2 separate regions of the Homo sapiens genome follow, and region 1 is linked to region 2. Evidence: promoter capture Hi-C in human tissues and cell types (Jung and others, 2019). All regions are on one chromosome and are shown on one strand. The core of a region is centred on a gene start or on the middle of the fragment in contact, and the rest is flanking DNA. Distances in the headings are between cores, read along the strand shown. Region 1 overlaps SLC5A4 (solute carrier family 5 member 4). Region 2 holds the start of RFPL2 (ret finger protein like 2).

Region 1 (4,133 bases), core at 1,119-3,618, 39 kb before region 2:
ATGTGCCGTGCACACCCGGAGAAGAGTATGCTCCCTGATGGATGGCATTGGGGGTCATACTCTTGGAGAGGGCACTTAAGTATTCCCCAGGATGGGAAGGTTAGGCGAGGCAGAGGGAAGCAGAGAAGCTCACAGGTGTCAGGGGCTTAGAGTTCACACGTCTCTTAAATCGTTGGACTTGCTAGTCTCCCAATTGTCCTCTGGTGCTGACATCTACAGCTTTACAGTTCTGAAGAGCATGAGCAGGCCGGGCGCAGTGGCTCACGCCTGTAATCCCAACACTCTGGGAGGCCGAGGCAGGCAGATCATGAGGTCAAGAGATGGAGACCATCCTGACCAACATGGTGAAACCTCGTCTCTACTAAACATACAAAAATTAGCTGGGCATTGTGGCATGCACCTGTAGTCCCAGCTACTCAGGAGGCTGAGGCAGGAGAATTGCTTGAACCCGGGAGGCAGAGGTTGCAGTGAACCGAGATCGCGCGACTGCACTCCGGCCTAGTGACAAGAGCGAGACTCCGTCTCAAAAAAGTAGATAAATAAAATTTTTATTTAAAAAAGAGCATGAGAAGGCATGAAGGCATAGAACAGAGGACAATGCACAGTGAAAAGGGGCCCCCGAAGGATGCAACCTCCCAGACTGGAGGGTCACTGGTGGATGGGGAGGGACAGAATGTTGGTGAGCTAGGTGTGGGTGCAGGGAAGCCATGTGCAGGTCTGTGGCTGTGCAGAGTCTGTGGCTGGCTGGAAAGACACCTTAGCAGGAGTCCATTCTTGCCTGCAGGTTTATGTCTTAAGTGACATTAATAATGATTAACCTTAGACATGACCTTTTGTGTACTCTTACACTCTGACACACGGATTGTCTCCTAGTTACTTATTAAACAGATCGTTATGAGACGTTAGGACAGGACAGTTTTCATAACTCTCCTCTGCCCAGGTTGGAAAAAGATCATCTTGTTCACTGGTTCTCAACCTGCAATAACATATGTATTGAGATTTGATATAAACTATTATCTAATCTACAGTCTTTATTCAGATATTGACTATTGTTTTAATACAGTCCTTTATAGCAAAAGAAAATCCTGATCCTTGCAATTCCTCTTTATTATGAGAAATATTTTACAGTCATTGTTAGTGTAATTAATGCCACTGAATTATATACTTAAATGGTTAAAATGGTAAATTTTATGTCATATATGTTTCATCACAATAAAAGAAAAATGTCATTGATGGCTGAGCCCAGTGACTTCTGCCTGTAATCCCAGCACTTTGGGAGGCTGAGGCAGGAGGATCACTGGAGGCCAGGAGTTCCAGACCTGCCTGGGCTAAATAGTGAGACCCTTATCTCTACCAAAAAAAAAATTATTTAGCCAGGTATGGGGGCACACATTTATTGTCCCAGCTACTTTGGCTGAGGCAGAAGGATCACTTGAACCCAGGAGCTAAGTTATAATGAGCTAAGATCATGCCATTGCACCACAGCGTGAGTGACCTGGAGTAGTCCCTATTTCTTTAGGAAAAAATTCATTGATAATATGTCAACTACTTACATACAATTTTAAAACCATGGATTTAATTCCTTAATAGTACTATATAATAGAAACAAAGGTCAAAGAATCCATAATAAGATAGTGTGTTTTAATATGAAAATGATTAAGTAGAACTACACATGAAGTCAAAATGCTGTGGTGTAATACTCGCCCCTCTGTGGATGAGGATAAAGCAGTATGAGTGAAGACAGCTATAAATGCAGGCAGAGGCAGATATCACACGTGGCACCTCCACAGGTAACACTCTTTTTCTGAAATGCTGAACATTTTTTTAAAAGTGAAATCTTCCCTCAATATTAGTTGGTATTCCTGGGAAACCCCAATGTGCAATAGAGTTACAGAAAGTACTTTGCATTTGTACAACCGAGTTGGGATCTAGGCTCAGAAAATCAAGAACAGGTTTTTGGCCAACATCAGTATCGCATGGGATGATAAAATGTCAGATTTTATTTCAAATCTTAGAGAAAAATACAACCGTCTCCTGCTACACCTGTTTCTAGCCCCAACTTCAACACAGAAACAGAGACAGAGTCTCACTCTATCTTCCAGGCTGGAGTGCAGTGGCACAATCTCAGCTCACTGCAACCTCTGCCTCCCAGGTTCAAGTGATTCTCCTGCCTCAGCCTCCCCAGTAGCCAGGATTACAGGCATGCACCAACACGCTCGGCTAATTTTTTTCTATTTTTAGTAGAGATGGGGTTTCACCATGTTGGCTAGGCTGGGCTCAAACTCCTGACCTCAAATGATCCACCCTGCTTGGCCTCCCAAAGTGTCTCTCATATGTTTTTAACTATTTGAAATTGTTACATATGTCATTGCCCTTTAACCCCAATAATTTCAATGTAAAATTTCCCCCAGATTTAACACTCATTGATGATTCTACCTGATCCAGTGATTTTTACCTGATCCAGTCTTTACTGTGGCAGTGTAAAATGATGGTTTTTTAAACTGAGCCTTCCCTGTATATTGTTATTCCTAGGAGCAGGGATAATTTCTTGCAAAACCAATTGGAATTATCAACTCAAGTAAACATAACATGGATACACTAATCTACCATTTAAATTCCAACTTTGTAAATTGACCCAGTAATACCTTTTTTAATCATCTTTTCTTCTCCAGTACAGGATGCGGTCTAGGGTCAGGTACTACATTCACTTGCCAAGTGTCTTTAGCCTCCTTTCATCTGGAACATTTCCATACCCTTTTTCTGTCTTTGATGATACTGACAATTTGAAGGATAGAGTCCCTACTCCACCCTTCTTAATATGACAATTTTTCTTTTGGATTTGCCTGATATTTCTTCATGGTTGGATTCACGTTATGCATTCTTCTTGGCTGGAATACTGCATAAGTGATGTATCCTACTAAAAGTATCCTATCTAGAAGCATTCAATGCCCGTCTGTTCCTCAATGGTGATGTTAATTTTAATCACCTGGTCAAAGTATTGCCCAGTTTCTCCACTATAGAATTACTGTTTTATTTTCCCCTGTAACCAATAAGCAGTCTGTGACAGATCCTTTAAACCACTGAAATATCCAGTTCCTCTTCAAATTTTTCCACTAGATTTAGCATTCATAAATGGTTCTTATCAGATCCAATCTTTACTATGATGGTTGCCAAATAATAATTTTCCAAAACTCCTAGCACTCCTTCCACAGTTCCCAGACAGCATTCAGCAGGCTACTGAGGGCAGGAGTCTTCCCTTCTCTATTTATCTATTACTGATATGGACTGATACATTCCTATTTATCATTGGTTTACCAATATTATTATATGCAGTTATTTTGATACTTTTTTTTTTGAGACGGAGTCTCACTCTGTCGCCCAGGCTGGAGTGCAGTGGTGTGACCTCAGTTCACTGCAACCTCTGCCTGCCAGGTTCAAGCAATTCTCCTGCCTCAGCCTCCTAAGTAGCTGGGACTACAGGCACGCGCCACCATACCTGGCTAATTTTTTGTATTTTTAGTAGAGATAGGGTTTCGCCATGCTTGTCAGGCTGGTCTCGAACTCCTGATCTCGTGATCTGCCCGCCTTGGCCTCCCAAAGTGCTGGGATTACAGGCATGAGCCACCACGCCCAGCCAGTTATTTTGATACTTACACCACATTTGGCCAGTGAGAGTTCCTCAAACTGGATTCTGTGTAAAGGATGGGGCATGATCCCATCATTTTGTTGGGCAATTTCTTAAATTCTGGCCTAACAAAATGTTTCAGACTCATCTTGTACCAGCCCTGCTCCAGTCCTGGAGTCACCTATTTTTCTGGGAGAGCCCTGGCTCCTTTAGTGGGGAGGGGTATTAGAAACAAAAATCTGCGTGCTAAGTGTGCTTATTGGGTGGACTTTTTTTCTTGACTATTTTAGCTGACATCATTAGGAAATAAATGCATACATACACACATGTAAATGCCCACACATAAATAGATATATTCACACACACACATACATATACTTTCTAGGCAGCTATACACGTACATATACAGTTTAGAAATCATGAGTTCACACTAATATCTCCAATTCCAGTCCAGCTCTATAGAGTATTTTATTGCCTTCTGCAATTCTATATTTATATGTTCCCTCTT
Region 2 (4,205 bases), core at 415-2,914:
CGCGCGCCTGGGAACCACAGCAGGTCTAGGGGCCGGGCCGTGCTCAGGATCCCCGCAGAAATGCTGTGTGCTGGCCAGGAGCAGAAGGAGATGGCCCTCTAGAGACTGGAGTCCCTCTCACCTCCTCTGACCACCGCTGTCACTGACACCTCCGCTGCCCACCACCAGGGGGACGGTGCAGCCCCCGATAGCGCCCCCGACCCTCCCCCACAGCTGGCAGTGTAGCACCAGATGGCAACCCCAACCCGCCCCTGCCTCGGACACTGCAGCACCAATGGCACCCGCAACCCACCCCCTGCCTTGGGCAGCGCAGCCCGGGATAGCGCCCCCAACCCGCTCCCTGCCGTAGGCAGTGGCTGTAGACAGTGTAGCCATGGGTAGCGACCCCAACCAGACCCCTGCCGTGGGCAGTGATGCCCCGATATGGCACCCAAATCGCCCCCTACCCCGGGCAGTGCAACCCTGGATAGTGCCCCTACCTGCTCCCCACCAGGAGAAGCAGCCCAGGATAGCACCCTCAACCCACTTCCTGCCTCCAGGCAGTGCAGCCACAGATAGCACCCAAACTTACTCCCCACCTCGGGCAGTGCGGCCACAGACAGCTCACCTAAACCACCCCCTGCCAAGGGCAGTGTAGCCCCCTATAGTGCACCCAACCTGCCCCTGCTGCAGCCAGTGCAGCCCCAGATAGCACACCCACCCGCTCCCTGCTAGGCAGTACAGACCCCTGATAGCACCCAACCCACCCCTCCACCGCAGGCAGTGTACCCGGCCCTCAATAGCGCCCCCAACCAACGCCCCCACCCCCTCTCCATGGGCAGTCCAGCCCCGGTACCAATCCCAACAACCCCCCGCTACCTGTCTCAGTGTAGCCCCCAGAGAGCGCCCTCAACAACCCCCTCCCCACTGCCAGCAGTGTAGCACCCTATAGTGACCCTAACCCGTCCCCCACCACCAGCATTGCAGCCCCAAATAGTGCCCCCAACCCGCTCCCCACTGTGGGCAGTGCAGCCATGGATAGTGTCCCCAACCAGCTCCCAGATGCAGGCAATGATGCCCTGGATATCACGCCCGCCCCCGTCCCCCACAGGCAGAGTAGCACCGGATAGCAGCACCCACCCTCGCCACCAGCAGTGTTGCACCCACCAGCCCCCCACAACCTGTCCCCAACAAGGGCATCAGGGCATTGCAGCACCTGATAGTTCTACTAACTCACCCCCGCCCCCCGGCCGCGGGCAGTGCATCCCCAGATAGTGCCCCCAAAACTCCCCACTGCCGCAGGAATTACAGCTTCGGATAGCGCCCCAACCCATCTCCAGCCATAGGCTGGATAGCGCCCCCGGATAGCGCCCCCACCCCACTCCCCTCAGCGGGCAGTGACGCCCGAGGTACCACACTCAAGCAGCCCCCCAACACGGGCAGTGACGCCCTGGATAGGGCCCCCAACCCGCCCCCCACGCCACAGGCAGTACGGCCTGGGATAACGAACCTATTCTGCCACCTTTTCACCATTCTGGCTGCGCTGTAGTCACCCTCGCGGCCACCAACCGCAGCAGCGAGGTGAGCCACTGTAGGCTCCAGCCTCCAGCATGCGCGGTAGATGACTCTAGCCTCTGGCATGCGCGGCAAGTGGCTCCTCCTCCTTCTCCTCTAAGCCGGGCACAGAGCAGCTACGCAGGCCGACGCAGATGAGCCTGGAAGGGCAAGCCACCCCTCTTGGCATCCTTTATATACTGAGTTTAATGCAAATGAAGTTTCTCGACTACATAGTCTGATCGGATGAGAGAAACCTCTAGGCCTACTCTGATCGGGCTTTGTTATCTTGTTCTGATTGGTTATCCTAAGACTTGCTGTCATCCAGTCAGAACGTGAAAATAAAGCACAATCAGAGTAGACCTAGAGGTTTTTCTCTCATCCAATCTGAACATGTAGTCCAGAAACCTTACTTGCATAACCTCGGTCTGTGGGGGGAGGGGTTCTTGCCATTCCAGGCACTTCTGCGTCTGCCAGCCCATCTGCTCCATGCCCAGGTTAGAGGAGGAGTCACCTGTCCCACGCTGGAGGCTTGAAAGCCTGCAGCAGCATGGCTCGGCTCGCTGCCGTTGGTGGCGGTGAGGGAGACTAGACCGCAGCCAGAATGTAGAAAGGTGGCGGGGTGGATGAGCTATCCAGGGCTCACTGCCTGCGGCAGGGGGCGGGGAGGGGGACAGGTTGGATGCACGATCTGGAGCTGCACTGCCCGAGGTGGGAGCGGGGGCGGATTGAGGGCGCCATCGTGGGCTACAACCCGGTGGTGGGAGGCGTGTTAGGGGCAGTATTGGGTGCTGCACTGCCTACAGCACGGGAAGGTTGGGTGCTTTACCGGACGTCATTTCCCGCAGCCGCGGGGTGGCTTGCTGGGGGCGCTATCCGTGGCTGCACTGGTCGCGCTGGGGTACGGGTTGGGGGCGCTATCTGGGACATCAGTGCGCATGGCAGGGAACTTGTTGGCTGTGATATCCGAGGCGTCACTGCCCTTGGCTGGGGGCTGGTTGGGGGCTCTATCTATGGGCTACACTGCCTACAGCCAGGAGCGTGTTGGGGCGTTATCGGGGCGGACTGCCAGTGGCGGGGGTGGGGGTGCGGGTTGGGTGCTATCGGGGGGCTTCACTGCCTGGCAGGGAGTGGATTGGGTGCGCTATTTGGGGTTGGACTGCCGGCGGTGGTTGACTCGGTGGGAGGAGAGGGGCAGAGGGAATGGGTTGGATGCACTATCGGGAGCTACACTGCCCGAGGCGAGGGGGAGATGGGGGCGCCATCGTTGGCTACACCGCATGTAGTGGGGGGCGTGTAAGGAGCAGTAGTGCGTGTTGCATTGCTCATGGCGGGGGAGGGTTGGGTGCGTTATCCCGGGCGTCATTTCCCACAGCGGCGGGGGTCAGTGGAGGGGCTTGTTGAGGGCGCTATCCATGGCTGCACTGGTCGCTGAGGGGCAAGGATTGGGGGCGCTACCTGGGACATCAGTGCCATGGTGGGGAACTTGTTGGGTGTGTTATCCGAGGCATCACTCCCCATGGCTGGGGGCTGGTTGGGGGCGCTACCCATGGGCTGCACTGCCCACAGCCAGGAGCGTGTATGGGACATTATCGGGGGCGGACTGCCAGTGGCTGGGTGGGGAGGCGGGTTGGATGCTATGTGGGGTTGCACTGCCCAGCAGGGAGTGAGTTCGGTGCGCTATCTGGGGTTGCACTGCCGGCGGTGGGTGGCAGATTGGGTGCCCTATCGCTACACTGCCGCGGCGAGTACCGGGTTGGCGGCGCTATCCTGGGCTACACCGCCGGTGGCGGGAGGCGTTTTAGGGGCGCTATCTGGTGCTGCACTGCCCGCGCAGGAGTTGGGTTGGGTGACCTACTCCAGGCGTCACTGCCCGAGGCTGGGGGCTGATTTGGGGCGCTATCCCGGGAGTCATTTCCTGTGGCGAGGGGCTGGTTGAGGGTGGTATCCGTGGCTGCACTGCCCACAGCACAGAGCGGGTTTGGGGAGTTATCCCGGGCTGCGCTGCCCGTGGCAGGGGGCAGGCTGCCAGCGCCATTGGGTGCTGCATGTACTAGGCACGGATGAGTTAGGGGCGCCATCTGGGACTGCACTGCCGGTGGCGGGCGGTGGAGGTGTCAGTGACAGCGGTGGTCTGCAAGAGAGGAGCGGTCCTCCTCTTCCCGGCCACCTCCTCCTGTTCTTGCTCAAGTGCGGCGGGCGCACAGCATTTCCTGAGCGCGGCAGGGGCCCCAGCCCCGTGGTGCTTCCTGGACCCGCCTCCTATTGCTCTGTGTTGCAGAGACCGCCTGGGACCCCGGGGCACGCAGTAGTGGACACGAGGAGGCTACAGGGCCCTGTGGGTGGAGGAGGCATCAGGAACGGGAACCGGCACTTGGGTGGGGAGGGCTGGCTGGGGTTGAGTTTCTGCTGCTCCTGCTTCCCGAGGAGTGCAGCCAGGGTGGCTGCAGCTGTTCCTGTGGAGTGGGAAGCCCGGGCACTGTGGTGTCTGCAGTCCCCACTCCAGGCCGCAGTTCCTGGCCAGCTTGCGCTAAAAGGAGAGGCTGGACTTTGAAGTGTGGGTGTGAGTACCTTCGCTGAAACCGGCCCCTGCCACCCAGTGGCCAGCATGACAAGGTGCGCTCTAATGTTACCACTCTGCATCCTGTTCTAGGCTTTTCTGGCTTTGTCTG

What was found. Contacts are between HindIII fragments. The study calls those that stand out against the background at their distance.
Region 1: a fragment that was not itself captured here is called in contact with the fragment with the promoter of RFPL2 in region 2 in 6 of the 25 tissues and cell types used here (dorsolateral prefrontal cortex, lymphoblastoid cells, mesenchymal stem cells and 3 more).

Annotation. Positions count from the first base shown.
Region 1 is chr22:32,241,931-32,246,063 of GRCh38, reverse strand. The region is part of intron 5 of SLC5A4 (solute carrier family 5 member 4); the gene reads left to right. The region is part of intron 2 of SLC5A4-AS1 (SLC5A4 antisense RNA 1); the gene reads right to left. Among named protein-coding and RNA genes, the nearest start is that of SLC5A4, 11 kb to the left of the region's middle. The HindIII fragment of the contact is 9,090 bases long and covers 1-4,133 here.
Region 2 is chr22:32,202,532-32,206,736 of GRCh38, reverse strand. RFPL2 (ret finger protein like 2) reads left to right here and starts at 1,664. Exons shown (of 5, transcript NM_001394555.1): 1 at 1,664-2,030; 2 at 4,187-4,205. It overlaps SLC5A4-AS1 (SLC5A4 antisense RNA 1), which reads right to left and starts at 1,622. Exons shown (of 4, transcript NR_149072.1): 1 at 1,490-1,622. RefSeq lists an enhancer at 1-220. The HindIII fragment of the contact is 14,140 bases long and covers 1-4,205 here.